2 separate regions of the Homo sapiens genome follow, and region 1 is linked to region 2. Evidence: promoter capture Hi-C in 16 types of primary human blood cells and fetal thymus (Javierre and others, 2016). All regions are on one chromosome and are shown on one strand. The core of a region is centred on a gene start or on the middle of the fragment in contact, and the rest is flanking DNA. Distances in the headings are between cores, read along the strand shown.

Region 1 (4,901 bases), core at 483-2,982, 500 kb before region 2:
TTGGCTGCCAGTGTGTCAGAAAAATGTTGCCGTTTTCAGGGGGGCTTGTGTCCTGATGTAAAGATGTTTGAAAACACTGAGAGACTGCAGTCAAAGACTCTGGTTCTGAAAGATCAGGACAACATAGGCTGGCATCACCATGGTTGATGCGACCATGAAGTGCTGGGGCAGAGAACCCAGGAAGATGCATTGTGCACTTCCAGCTATTTGGTTTTCCATGAAGGTCATAAACAGGCACTTTACAAGAGAATCTTTTCATCTTGGGCATGGGGTTGTCTGAGCCCCTCATGGTCCAGGTGATGAGAGGGTAATGTGTGGTTCTAGGAAGAAAGTAGGCGAAGCGGGACATCTGTTCACCAGAGGAGACATTACCAGATATTTTGTACTGTGAAGTCTGAACCCACTCCCAGCTAGTCTGTGTCCTTGTCAGATGAAATGTAATATTTAGACAAATTGACTTTAATCAATCTGGAGGCAAACTAGAATAGAAGGTTTTTCAGAAATAATTATTATCTTGAATTGTAGATTTTTTTACTTTATTGGATTGCATTCATTTCTAACACTTATTAAGTTCCTGCAGTGCGAAAGACGTTATCTTGGGAGCCGACACAGTCATCTCATTTGAGCCGCTAGTACACTCATACTCTTTCTCTAAAACAAGTTGCCTCTTTTTGAATATACAGTTTGTGAAATTGGATGTCTGAAGTTCTGTGTTTTCCTCTTTCTTCCCTCGACTGATACACTGAAATTCCCCGTTTGATTTCTAACAAGCCCACTCAGCATATGATAAAAATAATTTGGGAAGATAAATCCTGAAGCATATGCCGAACTTTTAGAATCATTTTTTAAGTGTGGAAGTCATCCTATAACATTGCTAAAAATCCTGAGAACTGTTGGTTTCTGAGGAATTAGCAGAGAGATAATGTACCTTTGTTTGACGTAATATAAAATGAAAATTTTAGCCCATATGTAATTGCTTTCTCTGCTTCATTTAAATTATTTTAATTAAGTATAATTTTGAGGTTTTTTTTGTTACTGATACCTTTTTAGTTATCCCATCCATAGCTCCAATCATTAACAATAATACCCATAGAAATATATTAAGCACACTTCAAAGGCTATATATTTGGCACATATATGTGATTTTTATTGTCTTAGTGCCTAGTAACAAGGTTTCACATACTTATGTCTTTTGTAAGGATTTGAAAATAAGCATTTATATTTGGCATAAGGTAAATGGAATTAAAAGAATTAATGTTAGGTACTTTTTCATATGGATGTCCTTATTAAAATCTTACATCCCCATGTGAAATAGATGTCATACCCATATGACCAATGAGGTCACTGAAGCGAGGAGACATTAAGTAACTTGTTGTAAAAGTAACAGAATCAAGATACACATCCAGGAGAACTCATATTTCTTATAGTGGACCACAGTTTCCTCCCTGAACGGATTTTGCTCTGGGAAGATGGTTTTAATAGCTTGTAAAATAGTAACGTCAAGGACTAAATCCAGCAACCCCTTCCCTTTTCTTTCTGCCTTGAGAAATGGGACCCCTCTGGTCTGGAGGACAGATCACTTACTTGTTTGTACCTTGCCCCAGCTGTCCACTGGTTAAAATCACTCTGTTTTTAACCCCAGGAAGAAGATGAAGTACCGGACGATGAGACTCTGAACCAAATGATTGCTCGACGAGAAGAAGAATTTGACCTTTTTATGGTAATGTTACAGAAAATCATGAACACAAATGCTTTATACCTCTGCCCCTTTTTCTGTTAAGCAGAATGTCTGCAGCCTGCGTGCCTGGCAGAACTTCATACGTAAAGCCTATGCCTTTCCTTCAGTTCAGAGGCTGCAAACTGGCTGGAGTTAGCCTGCAGACATATTTTGTTTGGCCCACGCAGCGTTTTTTAAAATTTCCCATTCATTGCCAACATAAAAAAGAATCCTGATTTCTGGCTTCTCTTGAAAAATGAGATCGGGCAGTACCAGGCCCACATCTTTGTGTGGAAACAGTTGGCCAGGGCTGAGTAGCAGCTGCACTCTCTGGACAGGCCTCGCGGTCTACAGCTTACCATAGACGCCCTCCTGTTCCCAGTTCGTTTCTAATCCCAGGCCAGTGTCATTCAGGAAGCCTACCTGGCTCCTATAGGCATTGGAACTTACAACAGTGCCCTTACAGGATCAAAGCAACATGCTCCTTAGGGAGATAGGTGGACAACAGCTAAAACAACACACAGGTGTGCCTTTTCAGATTGTTGACGAGAGCCCGCTTAAATGAATGGGAACCTTCAAGGTGTGCATAAAGGTGTAGCCTTCATTTAAGGATCAAAATCAGTTGGATTTCCCTCCAGTATCTTCAATCATTTTCATCTTCATCAAAGACTGATTACAGAGAGAGTAAATATAAACCACAACTTTGGTGGTTGAATGCTGCAGAACCCTAAAGTTAGAGGTCCCAAATTTGAGTGCCATCAGATCTTACATGAGTAATTTGCATGTGTGAAGCAAGTGGGCAGAGGTAGGTGTACTGGAGATGCTTTGTCTATGGGGGGACAGAGCTGCAAGGTAGAAATGTGAGACCTATGTCGCCAGAAATGACAAATTTTCAAGGGGAGCTTGAAGTCTAGGTGTTTATATGTGATCTCTAGATTTTAAAACACTGCAACTAAATCCAACTTTTTAAGTTATTATATAACACTGCATGCCAAACAAAACACAACTGTGGGCCAAATATGATCCACAGGGTTTGCAATCTCCACCTTTTTAGCCTAGACAGAATGGAACTCCACCTGTTTGGAGAGGCTTATGTTATTTTGGGGTTTTGTGTGTGTGGCTTTTTTCTGGGAACATTGATTGTATATAATGATCCACAATAAAATTTTCTTTCTCAGGAAAATTCAGGTAGCTGTGGGAATAACTACTAAACTGGAATATGCACTTCCCTTTCTCCCTCCGTCCCCGAAATGAACCACCCTTCCCAAGTAAAGCTATTTCAGAGAGGAATGGTAGTAAGAAAGACTTAACAGCATGGTCAATGTAGGGCATTCATAAATTCTAGATTTCTTAACTCACACTGGTCAGCATAATCAAAGATTACAATATTCTCTATTTAGGGAGGTTAAAGATACCCATCAGAAATAGACATCCCCTCTGTCCTTGAAGAACTAATTAAAAGGCAGATTACTGGGGAACACCCAAGCAAGAGACCCTCAGCTGATCACTGTTAGGCAATAATTCAGCACTGCTAAAGCCGCAGATACTCTCAAGACACTGGAGAGGACAAGCTGCTTGCCATTATACAAATTAGATTAGGCCCAGAAATGGAGAATTCTTTCAGCAGCCCTGAAGTAAGGGGGTGAGTGTACTTTCCTGCCTTACTTTTGGGCTATTTGTAGAAATTGAAAACCTCAGAAACAATCTGAATATCTTGGAAGGCACAGCCTTCTTTTAATTTGGGACTATTTTACCACTCAAAGAACAGGGTTGTAACACAGGTGAGGCTGGCTAGGGAACACTTTTTGTAGGCACTTTGATTTTGTGAATTTTCTGCTGGTTTCTTAAAGGCTGGCTTCTATTTTGAGGATTAGACAGATTTTAGGTTTGGTTTAGTTTCTTCTAATCCACCGGCCGCCTTTGGCCAATTCACTATTCCTTAGCACCTCCACTTGGGGGCAGGAAATAAAATTTGAATCTCTGCCAGCTACAGATTAAAAAGTTTGGTGAGAAACAAGAATGGAATGTGAGCTAGAATAAATCTTTGGATTTTAAATATTTAAACTCTTTATCCATTATTAGAAAAGAGTGAGTTCTCTATAAAATTAATGCAAACTTATTATTTGATTTTGTATCATAGACACTGGTTTACACATGATAAGCAGATAGTTTATTTAAAATAACGTCTTTTAAAAAAAGCATGTCTTGCTTTCTCTTTCTAAAAATGTAACTTCAGAAAAAGTATCTTTTATACCAATTACTTAGGAATTTTACCAAAAAGATCTTTGGCAGCTCAAGATAAGTATCTGAGACATTTTGCTAACATACAAACATTAAGCTTTTAGATGCTATGTTCTCTACAAAGGGAAAAAGCACTTTTAAAACTAATTGTACTTGTAAGCATAAGGTTTATAATCAGATCTCAAGACCAATTATTCACAAAGTAACTAAATAGTAAGTTTGACTTTTGCCATAATGTTGAATTAATTATATTGGTATTTTGTGGGTAGAAATCTCTAGGGAGAGATGCAGTTATTAAGACTTTAAGCTTATCTTATGTAATCGAATCTACCTTTCCTAAAAGAAAAAAGAAACAAGTGCATAATTTACTTTTCTATCAGAAAAGATTTATTTTCTCAATTGTGGACAAATATATTAGCAAGAATAATGTCCATAGAAATGTATTGATTAAACATACCTCAAAGACTATTTTTTTGCTGTAGATAATAGTAGCAGTAAAACCAAAGATTGAAATGGCAGTATTTTGTCATCTCAGTATAGGACATTAACAAAATTTTTTTTTTTCTTATTAGCTCTCTAATAACTATTAGGAGGTTGCCTCACGAAGCCCCTCTTTAGAACTGCTGTAAAGAAGGCAACCTCTGTGTGCCAGTTATGAAGGTTTGGTGGATCCATTTCTCATACCAAAACATTAGAAGACAGGATTAAGCATCGTGAGCTAATTATAGCACATGACAGAGCAAGGTGGCCACATTTATCAACCAATGGGACTTCACCTGTCTCCCAAGCCTACCAGATTCTGGAAATGTAATGACTTCCAAAAATGTGGAAGAAGTATAAAGAGCTTTGACCACTAATTTTAAAATAGGTTCTAGAGGTCATATTTGGGTTTGCGTAGATATTTCATTTACATTTTATCAGTTTTAGCTTTTAAGAAAACATA
Region 2 (4,473 bases), core at 426-2,925:
ATGCCATTAGGTGAATAACACCGGCATGCATCTTCACTACTAAATGTCATACAAACAAATTTCAGTTGTTTCACATGCAACCTGTGTGGCTGCTGCAGTTTGTATCAACTATGTAACCACAGGGTGGGCAAAATAGCATTCAAAATGAGCTATAGTGCAAGATACCATCCATACGTAGAGTTAAGCCCTTTCATGCTTAGCAGTCACAATCAGGATATCTTTGGCCCACAGAAACCTATCCTGACTGGAATTTTCCTCTCCTGTGTGTCTCCTGGATATAGTAAGTTCCTAATAAACATCTCCTCTGATTGCTAGCCTTGACAAATTTCCAGGAGAACCAGGGCAAGGAGAAGACAGTGAGGCAGTGCCCGCTGCTCTTCAGATCACCAACAGAATAGAGTCAGAATATGATATTATTGAAACCTTCCAAGTTTGAATTAAGATAAAAACAACTTTTTCAAAATACCAAAAACCTTTTATTTAAGAAAGTGAAATCGCTCGATGTGCCCTCCCACTCTGGTTAGATGCTCAACAGACCACAGCAGACAATGCACCTCAACCAGGGCTAAGTGTGCAAGAAAACTGAAGTACACAAAAAGCAAATTATAGACTCAGGTACTGTCAGGCACAAAAGAAGAACCAACCCTTTCTAGGAGTCTTGTCTTTGCTTCCTTTATTCTTTCCTCGATTCTTGTAATTGAATGTTACAAAGTATATCAAGAGGAATAAACGTATGGGGCCCCTCTCTTCCAAACAAGAAAAGGTTAAGCTTTTAATTACAGGCCCTCAAACTATCATTTTGTGCAATTAGCAATTAACTATAATCGTTGATGAGCAAATGCAAAGCTGCGCTAGCAATTTCCCTTCTCCTCATCCCAGGCTGGGTTATTTCAGTCTTGTTCTATTACAGAGGACCAGCCACAACCGCGCGCACTCTCTTTCAAACATACACACTCTCTCACTTAAAGACACATTTAGTTTTCGGCAAAACGGCATCTCAGCGTGCGATTGAGACCGGCATCCCAAACCCCACTTTTGAGCAGCCCAAACGTTTGGAGCCCCTCCGCTTCATCACTTTCTGAGTGGATAGAGGAGGCCCGAAGAAGATGCTACCTACCAGCCTCTCTCAGGGGCGCAGGAGAGGGTGGTAGAGAGATGCTTGTTGCCCCTGGAAACTGCAAGTACCCCCCAGGTGCACGCCCCGTCAGTGGGGAGGCGGTGGCAACAGCAACGATAGTTGCATCAGCGCTAACTGCTGCTGCTGCTGCGTGTTCTGCCGGAGGCTGCCGGGAGGGTACAGTAATGACTGTAGGGAGCGCACAGCCGCTGCGGCGGCAGGTTCCCTGGATCAGGAAATTAGGACAGGCACCCGGGATTGGAGGCGAGGGCGGCGCGCGAGCCAACCAGCGGTCGCCCCGGGCCCCCGTGAGCCCCAGGCGAACGCGCGGAGCAGCCGGGCCCCTAGAGCGGTCCGGGTGGCGGCGGCGGCAGCCACGACCACGACCGCGGTCACTCACGCACGCTCACACTCGCACGCTCCCCGCGCGGGCACCCGGCTGCCCGGCGCGTGCAAGAGGAGCGCGTCGAGGGAAAGGAGGGCCGAAGCCGCCGCGCTCCCGCCCGCCCGCCGCGCCTCCCGTTGACCACGCCCCCTCCGGCCCCCTCCCCGCTGCTCACCCCGCTCTCCGGCCGCCGCCGGTGCGGGTGCTCCGCTACCGGCTCCTCTCCGTTCTGTGCTCTCTTCTGCTCTCGGCTCCCCACCCCCTCTCCCTTCCCTCCTCTCCCCTTGCCTCCCCTCCTCTGCAGCGCCTGCATTATTTTCTGCCCGCAGGCTCGGCTTGCACTGCTGCTGCAGCCCGGGGAGGTGGCTGGGTGGGTGGGGAGGAGACTGTGCAAGTTGTAGGGGAGGGGGTGCCCTCTTCTTCCCCGCTCCCTTCCCCCGCCAACTCCTTCCCCTCCTTCTCCCCCTTTCCCCTCCCCGCCCCCACCTTCTTCCTCCTTTCGGAAGGACTGGTAACTTGTCGTGCGGAGCGAACGGCGGCGGCGGCGGCGGCGGCGGCACCATCCAGGCGGGCACCATGGGCACGTCCGCGCTCTGGGCGCTCTGGCTGCTGCTCGCGCTGTGCTGGGCGCCCCGGGAGAGCGGCGCCACCGGAACCGGTGAGTGAGGACGCGCCCCTCCGCCGGCGGGCGGGACCCAGCCGGGGCACCGGGAGACCCCGAGGCGTAGGTCTCCGTTTGCCCACCCGCCTCCTAGGAGGCGCCTCTCGGTTCTCCTCGCCTTCCCTCCCTCCCCTCCGTGGTGGCGCCTCTGAGCTGTCAGCGCCGAGGCTAAAGGGAGCCGGGCTTGGGGAACAGCGGGGTTCGGGGTGCCCCGACGCCTCGCCTGAACTAGTCTTCTGCCCCTCACTCCGCCTCCCCCAGAGCCGCTGCTTCGCCTCGTTTCTCGCCCTCTTGACGGGCGCCGAGGTGCGTGGGCTTCTGAGCATTGAACAATGGTTCTGCCTCCTCTGCCAGGCGCAGTGTTGGGAAGGAGGCAGAGGGCCAAGACGTGTGCGGCAGCCTCGGGCGCACCCTCGAACCCCGGGGAGTGCGGGAGCGGACGGGGGGAGAAGGTGAGCGCCTCCGGGGACGCGGAGCGCCAGGGGCCGGCCGGGCTTCAGAGTCTTCCGGCGGCCGCGAGCTGGCGCACGTTCGGTGGGCGGCGGCCGGGAGGCTCCGCGGAGCCGAGGGCACCCGGACTGCGACTCCCCCGGCGCGGGGCCGCCTCTCCGGCGTGCGGGGTAGGGGAGCGGCGGGGCTTTACGCAGGACTCTGCTCTGGGCGCTTCTCCTCTCCCTTTTCCCCGCCTCGGGCGGCGTTTGGAAACCGCTCGGGTCTCCCGTGTAGCTGAACGCGGAGGGGGAGTGGAGGGGAGACTTAATCAGGTTAGTTTGCTGACCCTCCTTCCCGGTGACGTTTCCTCGAGAGGAATTGAGTCCTAGGCTAGTGACTGTAATTAGCCTTCATTCTACACAATAGCTCAAAGGAGCAGCGCGAGAGCGAGCGTGTGGCCCTGTCTTGTTGGGAAGGGCGGCGGTGACTACTGTCGGGTCCCCAGACTCTGCCGCGGGGGCCTGGGGGCCCCGCCTGGTCGTCAGCCACGTTCCCACTTGGGGCCTCGTAACTTTCCTGGACAGGCGACAGGAAGCCTTTCTGAGAGGACTCAGTCGGAATCCTAGCGCGTCCCCGAAGTGATCTTCAGATGTGACGCCGAGGGGCTTGCTTGCCAGCTGCAGGGAATTGGGACTGAAAGCCGCCCAGGCCCTTAACACCCGTTCCAGAGTCCCTGGCTCCCGTCGCCGGGTGGCTTCAGGGGCCCTGCCGGCCTGCAGTCACGTGCTCCTGAAGTGAGAGCGAACTTTAAAGCATGTGGTCAAGGAGCCTGTCGGGCAGCGCCTGGGGTTTTTACGTCTCCGAATGCCCCTGCCCTTTGGTTGCCACTGTCCGGAGCGTGTGAACTGGGACTGGCCTTTCCGCCCTCTGCGATTGGTTAGCGGTGCGATCACGTTTAGGTTGGTCACATGGTTCCGCGGACTCTTAAGTGGGCAGCATGGGCAGTGTTATTTTCAATGGAAAGTAGGAGACTCCACAGGCTCTTACGGGCTGTTCTCTCAAATGCCTTCCCCTGCCTGGACTCTTTGAAGAGGACGAATGTGTAGTGAACATGGAATCTGATGTGTAACAAGCCTGAGAGCCTAGAAAAGCTCTGCTTACAAGAGTTTCCAAACGCTAGCATTAATCATTAATAGATGAGTAATACTAACTTATTAAACGATTTCTCAGTATAGTGCCATGACTTGCATTATGCCTTTTGTAACATTTCAAAACGCTAAGGTATACCAGAAGGAGGGACAATTATCCAGGAAGGTGAGAGAAAAGTTTCGTTTTTGCTGCATGTCCCTTCCACTAGAGGTTAACTTTACCTTATAGAATGCTAGGAATGCACCTAAACTACTGACATGAGTTAGTCAAAGCCAGATGTTCACCTTGTATTGGGCAGGTGAGGATCCTTTTCACTTTGTCACATGTGAAATATTTGACATGCCATGAACAATGGAAAAACAAATTCTTCAAAGGAGAGGAAGCAGATTCTTCCAGAACTGGAGGAAATTTGGGCTGAGGCAGTTATTGACCCTAAACCAATCCCAACCGGCATCTGTCTTAAGTTCAAAGTCTCAGGGCATGTGGGCTGACTTTCTACCCTGGAGCTTCTACACATACCCCTTCTGTCCACTGGCACATGGTGCTGTTCCACAATACTCCTGGACAAGACAGGTGAACACTGAGACTCTGGCAAGGAACTTAAGGCTAACAAGAAGTTGGTATACCTGATTGCACAATTCCTGGGGGTTCTGGGACATTTTCCTTCAGCCTAAGTAGTCAAGATTAAGATCTGTGGTATGATATATTCTTTAAGGCCAGAGTCTAAAA

What was found. Contacts are between HindIII fragments. The CHiCAGO score rates a contact against its expected background, and 5 or more counts as called.
Region 1: a contact is called between a fragment that was not itself captured here and the fragment with the promoter of VLDLR in region 2, in 1 of 17 cell types (megakaryocytes). The highest score is 5.3, in megakaryocytes.

The regions. Positions count from the first base shown.
Region 1 is chr9:2,117,816-2,122,716 of GRCh38, forward strand. It overlaps SMARCA2 (SWI/SNF related BAF chromatin remodeling complex subunit ATPase 2), which reads left to right. Exons shown (of 34, transcript NM_003070.5): 26 at 1,643-1,720. Among named protein-coding and RNA genes, the nearest start is that of SMARCA2, 100 kb to the left of the region's middle. The HindIII fragment of the contact is 4,642 bases long and covers 1-4,053 here.
Region 2 is chr9:2,620,112-2,624,584 of GRCh38, forward strand. VLDLR (very low density lipoprotein receptor) reads left to right here and starts at 1,676. Exons shown (of 19, transcript NM_003383.5): 1 at 1,676-2,160. The coding sequence starts at 2,079. VLDLR-AS1 (VLDLR antisense RNA 1) reads right to left here and starts at 2,262. Exons shown (of 4, transcript NR_015375.2): 1 at 1,989-2,262. RefSeq lists an enhancer at 1,218-1,512 and silencers at 1,391-1,470, 2,081-2,350, 2,621-2,710, 2,721-2,810. The HindIII fragment of the contact is 5,619 bases long and covers 768-4,473 here.